7 separate regions of the Homo sapiens genome follow, and all the other regions are linked to region 6. Evidence: promoter capture Hi-C in 16 types of primary human blood cells and fetal thymus (Javierre and others, 2016). All regions are on one chromosome and are shown on one strand. Each heading gives the region's core, a stretch centred on a gene start or on the middle of the fragment in contact. The rest is flanking DNA. Distances are from core to core; before and after follow the strand shown.

Evidence for each region. Contacts are between HindIII fragments. The CHiCAGO score rates a contact against its expected background, and 5 or more counts as called.
Region 1: a contact is called between the fragment with the promoter of HOXC12 here and the fragment with the promoter of SMUG1 in region 6, in 3 of 17 cell types (naive B cells, total B cells and naive CD8 T cells). The highest score is 8.1, in naive B cells.
Region 2: a contact is called between a fragment that was not itself captured here and the fragment with the promoter of SMUG1 in region 6, in 9 of 17 cell types (total B cells, total CD8 T cells, naive B cells and 6 more). The highest score is 11.4, in total B cells.
Region 3: a fragment that was not itself captured here is called in contact with the fragment with the promoter of SMUG1 in region 6 in 1 of 17 cell types (fetal thymus); the score reaches 5.4 in fetal thymus.
Region 4: a contact is called between a fragment that was not itself captured here and the fragment with the promoter of SMUG1 in region 6, in 15 of 17 cell types (total B cells, total CD8 T cells, naive B cells and 12 more). The highest score is 15.9, in total B cells.
Region 5: a contact is called between a fragment that was not itself captured here and the fragment with the promoter of SMUG1 in region 6, in 1 of 17 cell types (erythroblasts). The highest score is 5.4, in erythroblasts.
Region 7: a contact is called between a fragment that was not itself captured here and the fragment with the promoter of SMUG1 in region 6, in 17 of 17 cell types (total CD8 T cells, naive CD4 T cells, naive CD8 T cells and 14 more). The highest score is 36.7, in total CD8 T cells.

The regions. Positions count from the first base shown.
Region 1 is chr12:53,953,588-53,956,287 of GRCh38, forward strand. HOXC12 (homeobox C12) reads left to right here and starts at 1,316. Exons shown (of 2, transcript NM_173860.3): 1 at 1,316-1,952. The coding sequence starts at 1,343. It overlaps LOC105369775 (a long non-coding RNA gene), which reads right to left. Exons shown (of 3, transcript XR_944977.2): 2 at 2,304-2,380; 3 at 1-692. The HindIII fragment of the contact is 3,202 bases long and covers 410-2,700 here.
Region 2 is chr12:54,058,027-54,060,726 of GRCh38, forward strand. It overlaps FLJ12825 (a long non-coding RNA gene), which reads left to right and starts at 228. Exons shown (of 2, transcript NR_026655.1): 1 at 228-538. RefSeq lists an enhancer at 1-126. The HindIII fragment of the contact is 9,317 bases long and covers 1-2,700 here.
Region 3 is chr12:54,357,790-54,360,489 of GRCh38, forward strand. All of the region lies in intron 1 of GPR84-AS1 (GPR84, ZNF385A, ITGA5 and GTSF1 antisense RNA 1), which reads left to right. It also overlaps a transcript of GPR84 not described here. Among named protein-coding and RNA genes, the nearest start is that of GPR84, 5.3 kb to the right of the region's middle. RefSeq lists enhancers at 1-805, 806-1,630 and silencers at 1,188-1,427, 1,438-1,507, 1,658-1,837. The HindIII fragment of the contact is 3,720 bases long and covers 1-2,700 here.
Region 4 is chr12:54,041,220-54,043,919 of GRCh38, forward strand. It overlaps a transcript of HOXC4 not described here. Among named protein-coding and RNA genes, the nearest start is that of MIR615, 8.6 kb to the left of the region's middle. The HindIII fragment of the contact is 4,734 bases long and covers 1-2,700 here.
Region 5 is chr12:54,382,651-54,385,350 of GRCh38, forward strand. ZNF385A (zinc finger protein 385A) reads right to left here and starts at 2,083. Exons shown (of 7, transcript NM_015481.3): 1 at 1,778-2,083. The coding sequence starts at 1,864. All of the region lies in intron 1 of GPR84-AS1 (GPR84, ZNF385A, ITGA5 and GTSF1 antisense RNA 1), which reads left to right. The HindIII fragment of the contact is 1,409 bases long and covers 547-1,955 here.
Region 6 is chr12:54,187,682-54,190,381 of GRCh38, forward strand. It overlaps SMUG1 (single-strand-selective monofunctional uracil-DNA glycosylase 1), which reads right to left and starts at 1,304. Exons shown (of 4, transcript NM_001243787.2): 1 at 1,270-1,304; 2 at 138-221. LOC105369777 (a long non-coding RNA gene) reads left to right here and starts at 1,416. Exons shown (of 3, transcript XR_944984.2): 1 at 1,416-1,521. The HindIII fragment of the contact is 2,636 bases long and covers 1-1,615 here.
Region 7 is chr12:54,013,614-54,016,313 of GRCh38, forward strand. LOC124902939 (a long non-coding RNA gene) reads right to left here. Exons shown (of 2, transcript XR_007063323.1): 2 at 2,400-2,700. Among named protein-coding and RNA genes, the nearest start is that of HOXC8, 6.0 kb to the left of the region's middle. The HindIII fragment of the contact is 3,080 bases long and covers 1-2,700 here.

The DNA of each region.
Region 1 (2,700 bases), core at 66-2,565, 230 kb before region 6:
AATTCGAGTGTTTTTTCTATTAGACCCCAAAAGGATACATCTGGTTTGGGGGAGTTTTATTTTGTCTTTCTTTTTAATCCGCTTGGCTGTGTTCTGTGGACCTAGTTGAGATCGGATTGTGGTTTTGCAGATGTTGATTATCTCACCAATGGCCAGCATTGCTTCTCGGCCTTCTCTGGAGGGAGCTTCTGAGTTTGCACCATAAATATAATTTCACCCCCCAATAAGATAATTCTTCAAGGGTTTTTTCCCTCAATCCTAGCCCCCTCAGGAGGCAACCTACTGCGGGCCTCTGCACTGCTATCTGATGGTCCCAGGGGCAGGCTTGGCCGGTTCTGGGGTGCAGTTGTCTCCTCCGCAGTGAGAATTAGGCCCCTCTCAGCCCAGTCAAGCCCTGTTAGGGGTCCAAAGCTTCCCACTGCAAAGACTCCAGGAGGCCCCCAGAAGCTCCTCAGTTCCCCGGAAATGACAGCAGAAGAGTAGTTCGCCCCCAGATTTTCAGGAGCAGGCAGGCAGGTCCATGTGGAGCTAGGCACCTCCTTTTGCTGCATTCTCTACCTCCCTTCCGCATCCTTCCTCTAGCCGTGAGTGGAGGTGTGAGGCTGGGTGGCTCCCGGCTCCAGAGGAAAACCCGGCATTATCAATTATCCTTGAGTATTGGGGAAGAGGACTCCAAATGTCTCTCCAAATTCCTGAGGATAAAGAGCTGATAAAGAAGTGTGCAGCAGCAGCTGGGGCGGGAAGAGATAACGGCAGGGAAACCTGTCCTTACCCCCACTTCGCCTCTACTGTAAATAAACCCCGAGCCAAAGGGCTCATCCGTCTCCTTAAACAGTCAGTAAACTTTATATGACACAATATCTAATAGTAATTTATTGAGGAGATATTGTAAATTCCAACGGTTTTAGTTAATAAAGAAGCTAATTAAAGAGGGACAGGCTGTGCTTGGCCAGCTGTTGGCGATAAGATAATATATGGGGGGGGGTGCAGGTTATAGGGGTGTATATATGCGGGCATTTTTTGGTGTGTGTTTTTTCCCTTTTGCCCCGTGTTGGGCAATTGCTTTACTCTCTGCGTTAGGTTATATACATTGTTTTAGAAAATCAGTTCAGCAAATAAACCTGCCCCCGCCCTTTGTTACCCCACTCACCCCCAGGATTGGGGAAGGGGGAAGTTAGAGTGCGGGATGGGATGGTGGGGGGGGGGGATCGGTTGTCCCCACCCCTCCCCCTGGCGGCCGTGCCCACGTGAGTGGGGCGGCCAATGGGTGACTGGTGCAGATTTAACTATGTTTAATGTCAGATAGCAATAAAGTAGAAGCTGCCGGTCGGGCCCCGCGGAAATGGGCGAGCATAATCTCCTGAATCCCGGGTTTGTGGGGCCGCTGGTAAACATCCACACGGGAGACACCTTCTACTTCCCCAACTTCCGCGCGTCCGGGGCGCAGCTTCCCGGGCTGCCTTCGCTGTCCTACCCACGCCGCGACAACGTGTGCTCCCTGTCCTGGCCGTCGGCGGAGCCGTGCAATGGCTACCCGCAGCCCTACCTCGGCAGCCCAGTGTCTCTCAACCCTCCCTTCGGCCGCACGTGCGAGCTGGCGCGCGTGGAGGACGGCAAGGGTTACTACCGCGAGCCGTGCGCCGAGGGTGGCGGCGGGGGCCTGAAGCGTGAGGAGCGCGGGCGCGACCCGGGAGCCGGGCCCGGGGCAGCGCTGCTCCCGCTGGAGCCGTCGGGGCCGCCTGCGCTCGGCTTCAAGTACGACTACGCGGCGGGCGGCGGCGGTGGCGACGGCGGCGGCGGCGCAGGACCTCCGCACGACCCGCCCTCCTGCCAGTCGCTGGAATCCGACTCCAGTTCGTCCCTGCTCAACGAGGGCAACAAGGGCGCCGGCGCAGGCGACCCCGGCAGCTTGGTATCGCCGTTGAACCCCGGCGGCGGGCTCTCGGCCAGCGGTAAGGACCCCGGCCACTCAAGCGGCGGATTCAAACCCGACCTCTTACCAGGGCGGGCAGAACAGGACTGAGCTAGGGACGCCCAGGGTGACAGAATGTGTGGCGAGGAAGAGCTTCTTATAAAATGAAGTGCGGGTGGGGGGAGCCTATAAACATGTAAACATCCCCACAAAAGAAATGGAGAGTGTTCCTTTTTCGTCTGCCTGCGGCTGGAGGCGGCAGGGATTCCGGAGTTGGGGGATCCTGACGGGGACTCCCCAGGCCTGGGGGTGAGGAGGTGGGGACAGAAAGCCCGGCCCTAGTTCTCCCAGGCGCCTCTCCCTCCACCTTCCCACAGACCCCATTACTTACATTTCGAAAGAAATGCCAGTGGATGCGTTTACTCTGCCATTCGCCCATATCTGTTGTAACTGATCCGGGATCCAGTCCTGAAGGATGTGAGAGGAAGGGACCAGGAAATAGGGAAGAAGAAAATTGGGGAGAGGTTTGGGAAAAAAGGAGGGGATAGGGACTTAGAAGGGTCATGAATAGTGCAGCAGGAGGTAGGGTTGAGGAGGTAAGAGCAAAGAATGAAAGGAAAAAAAAGAGTAAAGAAAGTGGGGGAGTTGGTGGGGATGTGGGTCTGGGTAGAAAAGACGATTCAGATGACTGGCGGCAAGGAGAAGGGAGAGAAAGGGCCTGGAGTCCAGCTGTGAGGCGAAGGTGAAAGGGTCTGGGGAAGGGCCAAGGGCACTGGACTGGTCACCCT
Region 2 (2,700 bases), core at 108-2,607, 130 kb before region 6:
CTTTGCCTTGGACTTGGCAACCCAGAATGGCATGGCAGGGTTGGGATGTGGGGGGCCAGTCTGGGCCGAGGGCCCCAAGCTCCAGCAGTCTTGGTCCCTGCTGCTCTGCCTGATGCTGCTACAGCCTCGCTGGGAAGCTGAGGGCTGGGCTTTTATTTAAGTTGGGTTGAGCAGTGGGGAAAGGCTGGGGGGAGGACACAGCCCAGGTTCACGGGGAGGACACAGCATTTTCTCTCCCATTGCCTTTATATTCGGCAGCGCCTCTGACCTCTCCCCCACCCCCATCTCTGACCCTCCCAAGCCAGCCCTTGCTCAGCCCTGGTCTCCAGATAGGATGCCACTGCTTTTGTAGGACTGGGGATTTCTTGCCCAGAGTAATGGGAGAGGCAAGGCGCATGAATGCCTGTAAGTGCATTGTATCCCTCTCTCTTCAATGGCTAAGTAAAAAGAAGACGGGTGAAATGTCGACACCAATCTTCCAGGGTTCCTTCTCTCCAAGCGCCAGGAGATCCCCACAGGCCAAAGATCCCATTGACACGTAAGTAGTTAGCACTCGGTCTGCTCTGGGGGTGAGGAGCACAAAAGTTTAAACTCTTATTTGCCACTCAATTTTTGTCTCAACTCCCGGTCTTAGGCAGGGAAGGCGGGAAATCCAATTGTAAGCGGAGGGGTTCTGCTTGGAGAAAAAGACGGTTCTGTGCTGAGTCTGTGTACCTGGGGAGTAAAGAAATTTGGCTCAAAAAAGAGAGAGTCTGAGAAAGTGAGACTGAGGGAAAAGGACTGGGGCACTTTGCCTTTCCGAGGGTCTCTTGCTGCTGTTTGTGTGAAGTTTCCTACAAAGTTTTCTCTGCAATCTGTGCTTCAGTTTTCTTTCTGCTTGGACTTGGCAGATTGAAATCCAGAGACAGCTTCCCACAGCTAGGGGTGTGTGTGTGTGTGTGTGTGTGTGTGTGTGTGTGTGTGTTGGGGGGAGTTGTAGGGAAGTGAAAACAATTAAAAGGTTTGCTGGGAGCTTGGAGCCAGGGTGTCCTTCTCTGCTTTTCTAGGATTAGGGGAGACTGACTCTGAAAGGGGCCCTTAAGATCAAGGGTGCTATGACGGGGAGGAGCAGTGCGCTGGAGCAACTGTACCATCTTTTTCTCTGCCTTTTGCCCAGTCCTGGGGGAGCAAGCTATTGCACTCACAAAACCACCGCTCCGGGTTTTCCACAGCTTCTATCTGGCACTGCACCTATGGAGAGCTAATTTTAATTTAAATGTTCCCCTTCCAAGAGACCCCTCTCAGGCTTGGAATGAGAGATGGAAGATCCCTGAACACCAGAACTCCAGCGGCCACCAGAGCAGAGGGAATATTTATTACCTCTCTGGATGTCATTACCTAAGAATACAATTTTATGAACTTCCTAATCTGTTAGCTTGATTTATCTGGATGGGCAGGAGCCCAAAATAAACATTTGGGGGATTTGTTAAAAAAAAAAAAAGTCTTTGCCTCTTACCAATGTTTTTGATAGAGCTGACCACCCTTCTCAGCCTGCTTTTTCTGCACCCTGCATTGCCAGCCCCATTTTGATTTTTCTCCTGCAGCGTGTGGCTGCTCCGGGTGTTGGAGTTTTAGCTGCCTCTTGATAATTAAAAATGGGGGCAGTGAACTCTGAGCTACAGATCTGTGAGGAGCCCTCGAACATTTTAAAACCTGCGCAGCTCAAGGAGCTCAGACCCCTTTGGAGCTTGGGGAGCAGAAAGAAGCTAAAGCTGATCTGGAGCTTTGCTCATCAGCCCTCCAATGCCAGGAGCCCCTGGCTCTCCCTCCACTCCTCCGGGTTTTTCTTCTCTTCTCTCTGGTGTCAGTTCCGTAGCTCTTTGAACGCAGGGCCAATCCAGCAGAGCCCACATCCAGGCCTGCCGGGATAAGGGCCTCTGCAGCCTCATCTTCCTGCTTCCACTTTCTGCCAGGCCTGGAGGATAAATCAGGAGGAAGGGAAGACAAGGATGGGTAGGGAATATCAGACTATGTTTGAGGGCGATTAGGGTTACAGAGCCTAATAAAGAGGAAGGGACTATTTTAAATTTCCGGGCCCCATCAACAATTTTCAGATTCCTGAATAGGCAGCATCCTCTAGGGTCAGCTCTGCCTGCCTCGATGGGGTATGAGTGAAGCCAAAATAGTGTCGCTTCTACTCACTCCTCCTTTCTGACTCCCTCTTTTCCCAGCATCAAAGATCGGGAGAGGAAAGTATACAGTATTTTAATTTCCAGGCAGAAAAAAACCCTGGAACCGAGTGTGCAGGAGGCACTGCCAGATAGCCAAACCCTAGGTTCCACTCTGGAGCTCTGGCTTCCCGGGAAGCCTGGCCGCGAGAGAATGGGGCAAAATGTGACTGTCTTCATGGGGTGGGGGTGTCCCAGCTCCCCTTCTCACAGAGGCCAGGGTCTTGAGGATCGCGAAATGGGGCCAGCCGGGGCAAAGACGAAGTTTCAAGGGCCAGCGGCAGCCAGGCTCCTCCTCTGGGTTCCACGCCACGTCCGCCCTGGGCGCGGTGTCGCCTTCAGCTGGGTCACGACCCCGGGCTTGGGCGGACAATAGGGGCGCGGGGCGGGGAGCGCGGGATGCGTGGCCAGCTGAGCGGGTTCACTGCGCGGTGAACTCCGCTGGGCCTGAGGGTCTCGCCCTTTAGATCCCAGCCTCTCCTTTCTTCCTCCT
Region 3 (2,700 bases), core at 6-2,505, 170 kb after region 6:
GAGCTTAAGGGGACAGGGGGGAAATGGGCTTCTCCCCACCTTCTGCAAAAATGTTGTAACTGCACACTAGGGGCTATACGAATGCCAGGATGCTTGGAAAGTTCCTCCCCTATCTGCCTTCAATCCTTTCTGCTGCAAAGCTCTGCAGTCCTCTGAGGGGCTCTACAGGATAGTCAACCCCTCTTCCTGATACCTGAAACCCATTCCTCACCTCCGTCTGTGCTTCCTTCTCTGGCTCAGGAGGAGAGGGAATGTGTGGGTGGGGCCTTGGGAAAATGGCCATGTTAAAAATAGGAGCCCCCAGCTGCACCCCCCAGTGGACCCTTATTTATCACCTTCTAAATCTCACTCTCAAAGAAGCATAAATATTCCTAATTCCTGAAGGCCACCCTGGACTCATAAATTTAACTGGGGAGGTGGGCAAGGGGAGGAGTGAGGTGCATGGGATGGGGAGCTTACTGCAGCCTTGAGGAAGCAGAATATCTCCTGGGGGAGGCGCCTGACTCGTCTGTCCCCTTGCAGACGCCAATGGGTCTTCATAGGGGAGGAGGAGGAGCCTTTCTGTCAATATTTCCGTTGGGGAGTAGTCTTCTCTCACGGCACCTTTCCTCCCTCCCCTAAAAACAAACAAAAAACCAAAAACCTACCTTCCTCCTGGTCTTTCCCATTAGTTCTCTGTCGCTCTCCCTCTCTCTTTTCTTTGCTATTACCTTCCAGTTGTCCTTTCCTGCTTCTCCCTCTCTCTCACCTCCCTATTGCGCCTTTCTCTGTCTTTGCTTCTCTAATGCTTTTCCTTTTCAGAGCCATTGTGTGAAAAGGAAATTTCCGTCTCTTATTCAGTCTGGATAGTGAGATTTGAAAAGTCCCTCTCTCGATGCCCGATTTCCCTGCTTCAGCCCGTGTGGCCCCTCAAATGTGTCCTTTCTCTTCATCTCTCCTTCTTTCTTCTCGGATCTTGGACAAATTACCCAACCCCCCATTTAGCTCCTTAACCCTCTCTCTCTTCCCCTGCCTTCCTTCTCTCCTCAACCTTCCTTTCTTTCTGTCATCCTTTTGCCCTCTCAGTTTCCCCTTCGTTCCTCAGCTCGGAATCCTCTCTCCCTGTTCAGTCTCCTCTGCTCTCCCTGTCGGCCCCCATCCACACCCCTCAAACTCGACTCCTCGGCCCATGTGTACCCTCAGACCCCATCATCCCTTCAGTTCCCGTTACCACCACACCCCAGTTTCCCCTCCCAGTGGACGAAAGAGAAGGGAGGAGGGGGCCTGAGGAACAGGTAGAGGGAGCGCCATTCCTTGAGGGGAGGGAAAGAGGGGAAAAAAGCGGGGGAGAGGAGGAGGGACGCGGCGGGAAGGGGAGGGGAGGGGCATCCTCACTCCTCACTCCCTAGCAGCTGCACCCCCCTCCCCGCGGCTGCTGAGCCATAAATCAGGGCCAAGGTGGTTTGGCCAATGGTAGAGTGACTCGTAAATCGGCCTGTCAAGCTCAGCCAATGAGAGGCGGCGTTAAATCAAGTTCTGTCAGCGCTTGGCCAATGAAAGGCCCTGGGCTGACCATAAATCTGCCTGTAAGAGACAGCGAAAGAGAGAGAGCGTGCGAACGAGCAAGAACAGCCCGGGCGGGCGACTGGGGAGGGGGCGGGGGGAGCGCGGCAGCGGGGATTGGAGAGACGAGCTTAGGAGAAAAAAAAAGGCGATAACAGAGGTACAGGAGATGAAGACAGCCTACAGGAGAGACGGACAGATGGAAAGAGACAAAGAGAGGCAGTGAGAGATAGCGTCAGAAAGTCAGGGATAGAGCTCGGACTCGGGCGAGAGACTGACAGAGATAAAGAGACAAAGAGAGACAGACAGTGACTCACACTCGTGAGCATAAAGGGCCTCCAAACACACACACATCCCGAGACACGCATGAGCAACGCACCACGAGGGACCCAGTGCATGGCCTCACTCGCCAAGCACAACCGCAAGAGAGAGAAGGCCTCAAGAAAGCCTGGCTTTTCTTCAGTTTCATTCCCCTCATTCAGCCCTTATTGAAATTAGGGGCTGGGGTGGATGTGTGGGCCGTGGCGGGTGGCTGCTTTTTTGCTAAGATCTGTCCTCTATGGTCTTAGACCCCAGGATTTCCTTCTGTGTCTCCTGAGTTTTTTTTTTTTCCCCCCAGCGACTGATAATTGGGAAGTCCTTTCTGAGGTCTAACCTCAATCCCTATTGCTTCACCTTTCTACTTGACACCGTTGTGATTTGCCTTCTAAGGACATGTAAAGTGAATCCTTTTACAACTCTTCAGAGTTGTCAACTTTCAGAATCTTAGAAGGTCTGAATAGGAAGGACAGTTAGGGATCATCTGGACACTTGATCCTAGTTTTAGAAAGGCGGATTTGAGACTCTGCCCTCAAATCACGGTCTTACAACGTACTAGGCATTCGGCCTTGGACAAATTACTTAACCTATTTGTGCTTCAGTTTTCACATTTGTAAGAAAGAAATTATAATAGATACTTCATGGTAATTTTGTGAGGATTACATGAAATAATATATGTACAGGGAACTGCACTGGGCACGTGTTAAGAGTGTACCCCGCACCCCGCTTTGTACAGATGATAAAATCTGAGCCCCAGAGTGGTCCAGAGATCTGCTCAAGTTCCGAGAGCTAACTATGAGAGAGCCTTGACTGAAACCTTTGTCTCTACACCCATAAACT
Region 4 (2,700 bases), core at 124-2,623, 150 kb before region 6:
CACAGGGAGTGCACAGCTATGACAGAAATGCTTGTGTTTCCTGAACACTTGGGCTGGGCCCTGAGCCAGTCCACTGCTGGGTCCAGACCCAGGTATTCTCCCCCAGCCACTTCTCTAGAGCTTTGTTTCAGAGTGAATTTTCTGGTTGGGTTCTCCTCCCCTTCTCTTCCTGATCTCTTGCCCTCTTTGAGCTAAGGGGCAGGAGTTCTGATGGACTGTGGCACCTGGACCTCTAAGCACCCCCCTGGGGGCATTAAGAGTACAAGAATGGGAAGGATAGTCCGGACTGAGCTGGGCTTTGTCAACAATCCCCTCATTGTTTGTCTTCTGGATGGAGCTGGTTTGGGGACAATGCCACAGGCCAGGTGGGAAGGATAAGGATGAGAAGCCAGAAAAAGAGCAGCTCTTCTCAGAAATCATTGAGCCCTCACTTTTCAAGTTACCTTCAACCACACTGCTCCATCTGCTTATTTTGAGACTAAGTTTCACTCTTGTCGCCCCGGCTGGAGTGCAATGGCACAATCTCGGCTCATCGCAAACTCTGTCTCCTGGGTTCAAGTGATTCTCCTGCCTCAACCTCCCAAGTGGCTGGGATTACAGGTGCCCACCACCACACCCAGTTAATTTTTGTATTTTTGGCAGAGATGAGATTTAATCATGTTGCCCAGGCTGACCTCAGGTAATCCACACGCCTCATCCTCCCAAAGTGCTGAGATTACAGGTGTGAACCACCGCGCCCAGCCTTTTCTTTTCTTTTCTTTTTTTTTTTTTTTTTTGAGATGGAGTTTCACTCTTGTTGCCCAGGCTATAGTGCAATGGCAGGATCTCAGCTCACCGCAAACTCTGCCTCCTGGGTTCAAGCGATTCTCCTGCCTCAGCCTCCTGAGTAGCTGGGATTAGAGGCATGCACCACCACGCCTGGCTAATTTTGTATTTTTAATAGAGACAGGGTTTCTCCGTGTTGGTCAGGCTGGTCTCAAACTCCTGACATCAGATGATCCGCCTGCCTTTGCCTCCCAAGGTGCTGGGATTACAGGCATGAGCCACCGTGGCCAGCCCCATTTGCCTCTTTTATGAGTTAGAATTAAAGGACACACTTATTCTTCCCCAGTGAATGGTGTGGCAGATTGTTGGAGACCAACTCTCACCCTCAATGTGGACTTCTCACACTGGGGTACCAGATCTCATGAAGAGTTAGGAAACAAAGACAGGGGGAGATTGGTTCTATCCACACAGGCACTGGGAAAAGAGATTTTGTGAGTGCCTCGACCCCTCCTTGTGAGTGCCTCAAAAAGGTAAACTTTCTCTTTTTGACTGTCGTTCTCTGTAACTGCTTTGGACTGAGTTTTTGAGAGGGGGAATGCTGAAACATCATTGTTCTAGGATTTAATTAGGTCCTTTTTGCTGAGAAGACAAGCACCACCACCCTGAGCCTCTTCTTTAGTGGGACTAGGGCCCCTGAAGCCCTTTGAGGTGAAGGAGAAAGAAAATCTGAAATCAGGGTGCCAAACTAGGGTTTTGGGGTGAATGATTCAATTTAAGGAGAAGACGATGCTGTTTGAGAGCCAAGAAAGTCACATCCTTTCCTACCCCTCCCAACTTTTATTGGCTCCTTGTGACCCACATTGGTGTGTCTGTACTGATACTATCTCTGCTAGCAGCTTTGATGGGGCTCCAGGAGCCCAAGGAATTGCCAGACAAGGTCTGGGTTGAGGAACTTCGGTGATACAAATCTCTTTATTTTTGAGGCCTACACAACCCTTGTAATCATCTCCCTCTCCCAATCCTAAGGTTCACTGAGAGGCAAAAGGGGAACAGAGATACCTCAGAGGAAGCGGTATGGGTGTGCAATGTGGGACTTGGGAAAATTGGACTCGGTTATGCAGGACCTTGTTCAGCCTCTAAGGACCACATTTTAGCAGCTATGAGAAGAGGTTGAACACTTGGGCTGGGCCCTGAGCCGGTCCACTGCTCCAGGCATGCTGGGGAGCAAGTGCAGGGAGAAGGCTGCTTCTCTGCATCTGTACACATGTACAGAGAAAGTTCTACAGTGATCTGCAACCCCATATGGGCTGGGTGAAATGTGTAGCCTGGTCACCTAGGATCCTTTCAGTTCTGCACCACAGGTCTCAGAGAGGCAGTTCAGGCTTGGTTCTGCCCTCTAAAGATTCTCATTTACCCCAGCCCCTGGCCCTGAACACCAGAATACCTGAACACACAGAAACACATATATGTGCCCAAGGATGGTATGGTAGAGGTCAGAAGCCTGGGCTGGACACAGTAACCAGCATGGAACCAACTTCCCACTCCTCCCTCCCACTCCATTCTTCCCGTCAGCCCAGCTTGGAAACCATTTGTCCTCCCCACCCCACCCCCACCCCTCAAGCCCTGCGCAGCTGTTGAGTTTCCTTCCTTCTGCCTTTCTGGAAAACTCAAACGCTAGAGCTGACTCCAGGGATGGTGGCAGCCAGGCTTTCTGTGATCTTCAGTGTTGTGTTGGCCCAGATTGAGTTGTCAGGAGTTGAAGAGACATGGAGGGTCCAAGGAGGCCAGAATCTTATCTGATCTAATCCCCCTCTCCTTCTGTTCCAAGCTCAAACTCCAAACTCCTCAGGGCTCCCTTGCTCAGACATTAGAGATAAATCTTGTCTAGTAAATACTTCTTTTAAAAGTCAACTTTCTGGCTGGAAAACACAGGCT
Region 5 (2,700 bases), core at 1-2,500, 190 kb after region 6:
TGTGTAGTCAATGCTCAATACATGTTTATGGCTAAATATGGTTTGATGTGGGTTATTTAAGTTGAATAAGGCTGACTTTCCCCAAACTTTTAGCTCTAGCCCACCTTCCAGGCTTCAGATTCTAACTATCTGTAGAACATTTTGGGCTCAATGTCCTACTGGTATGCCAAATCACCATATCCTTTTTTTTTTAAAAAAAATATTTATTATTATTTTTTAAAACAAAACAAATAGGCCAGGCACGGTGGCTCAAGCCTGTAATCCCAGCACTTGGGAGGCTGAGGCAGGTGGATCACAAGGTCAGGGTTCCAGACCAGCCTGGCCAAGATGGTGAAACCCCATCTCTACTAAAAATACAAAAATTAGCTGGGCATGGTGGTACGTGCCTGTAATCCCAGCTACTGAGGAGGGTGAGGCAGGAGAATGGCTTGAACCCAGGAGGCGGAGGTTGCAATGAGTCAAGATCATCATGCCACTGCACTCCAGCCTGAGAGATTGAGCAAGACTACATCTCAAAAACAAAACAAAACAAAACAAAACAAATAAAGCTTTAGCTTTAGCACCACATGCTAAAGCATCATCCTCACTGGAGACCAGCTTCCTCTTCCAACCCTCTGCCTCTGTCAGTGGTGACTTCCATCCAATCACAAAGGCCTGAATGCTGGAGTCATCCTTGACTCATGCCTTCTCTTCTCCCCCACCCCCAAACACCAGTTGGTCACCATGGCCTGTCAATATTTCCTTGAAATTACCTCCCCCATTCTCCCTTTCTCTCCACTCATACTGCCACTGCCACCAGCCCCGTCTGGCTTTTGAGGCTTCCCTCGGGCCTGCATTGCTAGGACAGCCTCCTAACTGTCACCTTCCTCCTGCCTCTGTTCCCTTTCATCCAGTTGCCCCACTCACCTTCCTCAAACACTGCTCTTACCAAGTCACTCTCCTGCTCAAGAATAGACAGTGGCGGCTGGGTGTGGTGGCTCATGCCTGTAATCCCAGCACTTTGGGAGGCTGAGGCAGGCGGATCACCTGAGGTCAGGAGTTTGAGACCAGCCTGGCCAACATGGTGAAACCCCATCTCTACTAAAAATACAAAAATTAGCCCGGTGTGGTGGCACACGCCTGTAATCCCAGCTACTTGGGAGGCCGAGGCAGGAGAATCGGTGAACTGGGGAGGTGGAGGCTGCAGTGACCCAAGATCGTGCCACTGCACACCAGACTGGGCAACAGAGTGAGACTCCGTCTCATAAAAACAAACAAACAAACACACGAATAGACAGCACCTCCTTATTTCATATTGTATTAAATCTAGACCACCTTGCCAGTCCTCCAAGCCCTATCCCACTGATGCTACCCACCCAGCCGTGGACTGCAGAGAGGTGAAACTTACAAACAGGCATGCTTATTTTCCTGCTCATTCCCTCTTTCTGGATTCAGCACCTACACCCCTCCTACCTCCCTACTGTTACTACCACCAATTTAAGTCTCATTACTTCTCTAGATGGTAGGGCGATTCACTGTAGGACTAAATGAGATAATTCATATAAAACACTTAGCACAGTGTCTGGCCCGTAGCAAGACCTCAGCAAATATTAGCTATTATTATTGTTGTTAACACTGTACCAGATGGCCCACAATACTCAAAATTAACTAGAATTAAGGAAGATGGGGTCATAAGAGGAGATAAGGAATTAGAAACAGAAGAAGAGGGCAGAGGTGGGTCTGAGAGAGAAAGGTCGGGTCACAAGAGGATGGAGAAGGCAGGCAGGCTGCTACTTACGGTGCTGTAGTTGCTGAAGAGGCCAAGGGTAGGGGCTGGCTCGAGTGGGAAGGGCAGGATCTGCTTGAGGTCCAGTGGGGGCTGCATGATCGGGGGCTGCCGTAGCAGAGGCAGGGGCCCTGCCCGGCTCAGGCTGCCTGAAGGGCAGAGAAAACATTCTGTGGGGTAGGAAGATTAAAGCTTGGGAACCCCACCCAAGCCTGCCAGTCCCACTCCCTAGCCAGGGCCCCCACACTCAGAAGTGTCACCCTCAGTGCACATAGTGTACACACTTCCCCTGCTGGCTCCAGAGCAATGGAGCACAGTGCCCTGTGGGCCTGGGGGAGGGTGTAGACCAGTCCTTCCCTTCTGGGTGGTTTTCACTTCCCCCTTTTCCAGCCTCCCTCCCCCAAACTCCTTAGGCACATTACAGACCCAGTAAGAGCTCATACCTTTTCTGCAGGCTGCCTGCTGAACCAGCAGGACTCCCAGCCTCAAGCCCCTGGCCACCCTCTTCTTCTGGTTTTGCTTTCCCCCAGGGGATCCTAAAGCTTGGTATCGCCCCAGGAAGAAGAGAGTCAAGTGGGTGATTCATCCTACTGACCAGAGGGGGATATTGAGACTTAGATTTGGAGGGGGGCTGCTGAATCTCTCAGATGCCCTAGAATTAGATTTTGCTCTAACTATAATTCTTTATTAACTATTGACATCTGTGGGGGTAGGTAGTGGGTTGGGTGGCTTTTGCTCTGGGAGGTGAACTACCTAGGCCATTCTCAGAGCCCCTTCTCCCAACCTTCCTCAGTCTTCCCCCATGCCCTTTTGTCTCACCAGGAATGCTCAGCTACAGGTCCAGTTCTGCAGGAGGAACCTCGACCTGGCCTATGGGCGGGGAATGCCTGGGTCTGACCCCAAGGGGAAATGAAAGTCCAGGCCAGCCATTCAAC
Region 6 (2,700 bases), core at 54-2,553:
ATTCTACTCCTGTTTCATCTCTAAGAAGGTTCTCTTGAGCAACTCATTTAACTCTCTTCTCTATGGAAAATCACATACTCCATCCAACCTACCACCTGTTAACTCATTTTTTTTTTCAATACTTATGAGTCTCTTACATGACAGGCACTGCAGCAGTCTCTTGATGAGGAAGAAATCCAAAAAGAGTAAAATGTAGGCCAGGCTTTCTGTAAGCTCATAATCTGCTGTGAGGGCAAATAAACAACTAACTGTAATACAGTGTGATGTGAGCTTTAATACCCGGAACAAAACACTAAGAGAACCCAAAGGAGGAACTTGTAAGTTCTACCCAAAGTCGCCCCAAGAGCCAGAGGCTTAAGAAATGTAGATATTTTATAAAATACGGTGTCATACTACATTAAGCACAAAGACAGCGGAGTTGGACCAAGCGATAAGGCTGACCACCAAGGGCCGACTTCAGACTGATGTCAGACTTCTCTGACATCAAATCCGGGAAGTGAGGAAGGAATCGAAATCACATATGCACTCCCCTGTCCTTTGGAGGCACTCCGGGAGTCCAGGGACAATAATAAATATCCTTAAACGAAATAATAATAATAATAATAATAATAATAAATAATAATAATAATAATAATAATAATAATAATAATAATAATAATGCATAGGCCGGGCGCGGTGGCTCACACCCGTAATCCGAGCACTTTGGGAGGCCGAGGCGGGCGGATCACGAGGTCAGGACTTCGAGACCAGCCTGACCAACATGGTGAAACCCAGTCTCTACTAAATACAAAAATTAGCTGGGCATGGTGGCGCGCGCCTGTAATCCCACCTACTCGGGAGGCTGAGGCAGAAGAATCGCTTGAACCCGGGAGGCGGAGGCTGCAGTGAGCTGAGATCGCGCCATTGCACTCCAGCCTGGAATTCAGAGCAAAATTCCGTCTCAGAAAAATAAATAAATAAACAATAATAATAATAAAGCATAAACTCAAAAAGACCATTTCATCTGGTTCCAAAGGGGCCGACTACTAAGGCACCATACAAAACCTCCGGGGGCGCCCGCTGGCTCCGGCCGACTGGAAAGCCTTGATCCTGCAGACCTCCCAGGCGGTTTCATAGGCTGGGCTCTCCCTGCACTGAGTCTTACCCCATACGGAGGGAGGGACCCCAAAATATAGAAATTCTAACCACCCTCTCGGCTCAGCCCCGACGACCCTGGGAGCCGTCAACTTGCCCCCACAGTCCCGGATTCCCAGCCCCCTACTTCCTCACCTGGTCCAGCTCCCCATCCCGTTTCCGGTTCCTTTCCCCCACCCCAAACCCAACCCCCGGCGCTAAGGACAGTGGGAGTCGTAGTCTACATTGTTTAGGGAAGGAGATTGGCGTACCCGCAGCCACTTCCGCCGGAAATGCTCCAATCCCGGAAGGCGCACTAAATTAGCCCTAAAGATCGCTGGGAATTGTAGTTTAATCTTTCCATCAGCGTTAAATCAGGAAGTCTTGAGAAGTGAAAAGCCACAGCCTGTAAGTACCTAGGAAATCCTGGGTTCTATCCCTAAAGGGCATCGCCCTTCCAAAAGTTCATTCACTATTTTCCCAAAGGGATTGCAAATCAGGAAGCTTCAACCATCCCCAATCCCTCACCCACCTGAAGGTATTAACAATAGCTAAAGACCATTGCTAGGCCCCCTGCCACCGTGGGTATAAGAGACTTCTCCTTTGCAGCCTGCCATTACTTATACAGAACATCCACGAAGACATTTCTGGTAGCTCCTAACAACTTTTTAGCAAGGGGCATCCCCCATTACTGTCCAAGCCCATCTCCAGAGTGTCACCATTTTGACTTCTTTCTCTGCCTTGCTATCTGCCCAACCCTATAACCTCAGTATTAGTCAAGAGTTTTCCAGAGAACAGAACTAACAGGATATCTATCTATATGACGAGATTTATTCCAAGAATTGGCTCACAGGATTGTGGAGGCCAAGAAGTCCCACAGTCTCCCGCTCTGCTGTCTATACACTGGAGAACCAGGAAAACAGGTGGTATAATTCAGGAAAGTCCAAAGCAGGGGAGGAGGCTCACTGCTAAGTCCCAGAGCCTGAAGGACGAAGAACCAGGAACTCCAATGATGTCCAAAGGCAGGTAAAATAGATGTCCCAGCTCATGAAGAAAGAGAATTTGCCTTCCTCCACTCTTTTGTTCTACTGGCCCCCAAGGGATTGGATGGTTCCCACCCATATTAATGAGGGTGATCTTCTTAGTCTACCAATTCAAATGCAAATCTCTTCCAGAAACACTCCACAGACATATCCAGAAATAATGTTTTACCAGCTATCTGGGTGTCCCTTAGACCACTCAAGTAGACACATAAAGTTAGCTATCACTCTTCCATCCAAATCTTCTCCCTCAAATACTTTGTCCAGGAAGGCTTCCCTGATCAATCCTCATCCCATGGCTGCACCTAACAGTCCATTCCCCCACCATTCCCCCATCCCAATATCTATGTCCAAATCTGTCCTATTCCTAGTTTTGTTCTTGTGCTCTATCTGGGTCTGGTTCTGTGTCGTGACTCTAAAACTTTCATTAGACTGGGAACCCCCTAAGGTTAGTTATCTTCTATATTCCTCCCACCCCACAATCTCCACACACCTTAGCACAGCCAAGGCTCTAATCACAGAAGCAAGGTCTCCCTGTGAGTGGTAG
Region 7 (2,700 bases), core at 52-2,551, 170 kb before region 6:
GAGGATGGGCCTGCTGAGTGGACATCCTGCCACCCCAGTCACAGCGGGGTAAGAGGGCGTCTTTATTGGTATCTTCATTCCCCAAAATGAAGAATTGAAGGCTCAGGGACCCAGGGGGTAGAAGGGTCTCTCACTTCTCTCTGGAGAGTCCTGGACTTAAAAATTCTGTTTATGCCAATAAGATTCTGGTCAAATAATCCCAAATTCCAGAGATACAAGTCTTCTGACTCAGTCAGGAGAGGGGAAAAGGGAGGGGAGGGATCTTCTGGTCTTAAAAACCAGACCCCCGAAGGCTGAAATATTTTTGAGGCCAGATTTTCTTTCTTTCTTTTTCTCTTCTCTTCTCTTCTCTTCTCTTCTCTTCTCTTCTCTTCTCTTCTCTTCTCTTCTTTCTCTCTCTCTCTCTCTCTCTCTCTCTCTCTCTCTCTCTCTCTCTCTCTCTGTCCTCCCCACCCCTCATCTGTCTAGCTCCTGGTCAATGATTTTCCCAGACCTAGGCCCAGGCCAACTCTTGTTTTGTGGAATTTCACCCAGGTCCCAGTCACTGGTCCCCACGCAAACCGGGCCTGAAAATCGGGCCTGAGTAGAGAATTGAGTCGGGCTTCCTTCACAGGGGGACTCCTGCAGTCCGAGAAAGGCTGTGAATTGGAAGCACAGGCTGCAGGCAGCTGGGGCAGCTTTGAGCAGGAGCTCCGGGAAATCTTCTCTAACCTGGGGTCCCTGCTGTGAGCAGCGGCACCAGCCAGGTAACCTGTTCTCAGTGGGAGACACCGGCTACCCACCAGGGAAGCCAGAAAAGAGGCCATTTCGCTCAGACCTCAGGCCTTCCCACAGGCGTGTCCTCCATACTCCGAGGGATGGCTGAGGTCCCGTTTCGTTTTTAAACGTGGAATTATGATTGCTATTAATAAAAATATCTGGCCCAGTAGCCTAGCGGAATGAACCCAGCATTAAATGGCTCCGAAGGGCCTCGCCGCCTTTTCCCCACACCAAATGTGCCATTTATCCCTTGTCCTGTTCAGCAATGTCCGTGGCCCCAAGCCCGGCGCGTCGGAGGGCGGGGTGCGTCTGGCGCCCGGCTTTACTCGAGATGCCAGGCATGGAGAGGGCTAAGCCGAGGGAGCCCCAGCCACCCCCTCATGCAGTACCCGCTCCCCCACCCCTCCTGCCCACCGCCTCTGTTTTCTCGTTTGGAAAGAAATGGAGGTAAAAACCCGTTTTATGGGGGAACGTAATTGTGAGCGGGATGCGCTCTCTTTAGAATCGCGTCCTCCCAAATGCTCCCGCCGTCCCATTACCGGAATGGGGACCATTCGGCTGCTGCAGATAGGACTTTCTCTCCCATTCTTTACTTTTTTATTAGCCAATCAAAGTGGCTTCCGAAAGCCATTTGTGATTTGTGAAAAATAGTATCTTTCAAAATGCTGAGTTGAAGCATCTCGCTCATTGCTCCTTGAATTTATTATTCTAATCTCAACCGTAGAGCTGGAATAATGCAGCTATTAAGTTGGGGGGCAAATTCGTTTCTCTGGATTAAATTTTTTTTCCTCCCCACTCCCTCATTGCATCAGCCAAGGAAGGTGCGGACCTGCAAGAGATCTGGGGGTGGGTGAGAGAGGTAGTGAGCGTCCTGAAGGGCTCCTTGAGGGACCCTTGGATAGGCGAGTGGTTTGGTCTCCCCAGTCTTATCTTCCCCAGATAAGATGCCCTAATGACTGCCTGCTGGCTGGGAAAGTTACCCCGCCCAATTAGGGAGAATTCAGGACAGGTTGTGCCACAGTCTAGAAGTAAAATTTCCGGTGAGCTGCCCGCAGCGCCGTCCCATTCTCCCCGCTGCCCATTGTGAAAAGCTGGGCCAGCGCTTCCTTGTCGTAATTTTTAACTACCTGTTATAAAATTTATGGGTGGGTTTGTGAAAAGAAACGAGGTCCCTGCATCCGGCCTAGGGAACTGCTTTTCTTACTATGGAGGAAGTCTGGGGAAGGCATGAGGTATCCCCTCTTGGTCAGGGTTGAGGCACCCAACCATTGAGATTCCCATGCCAGCTTGATGCGGGACCAAGTGGAGAGATGCCGGCCTTCAAATCTCGAGCCCGTGGGGAGAGTGACCTGCCTGCAACCCCTCCCCCGGCAAATAGTCTCTATGGGGGAATTTATTCTGGACTCACCTTCAAAATTAGGGGTCTGGAAAAACAGGCTGCTCGAAATTTTAGCACAGAAGGTGGAATTCAGGGCAGTAAAAGGTTATTTTTTCAGGCCTCGGTAGTACATCCCAGCTGCCCAGACATTGAATCAGGAAATTTTTCTGAGAAAGGCAGGTGGGTATGGGCAATCTGACACGATCCAAAAGGCTTACTGCCTTGCACCCCTCCCCGCAAAAAGGAAGTAGAGACCAAGATCTTGGGCTTTAATTTTATTTTTAATTGTAAAAAGATTTCAAATAAGCCACCATTTGAACTGGGAAGGGAAACTAGGGATGGTCTTGGGGGAAAATGTCATTCTCTCTAAGAAAGGGACCCCGGGGATGTGGGTCGTTTTGAGGGTCCTAGAAGTTGACCCCAATTCTCACCTCTCCTGCTGCACTGCAGGATTGCCCAGGGTAGGTCTAGTCCCCTAGGTTCTTCAGACCACTCCAGGTCAGGTTTGGTTGGGTGGCTGCCAGTGGTCTTCCACTACTGTTCCTGTCTAGGGTGGAGTAGGA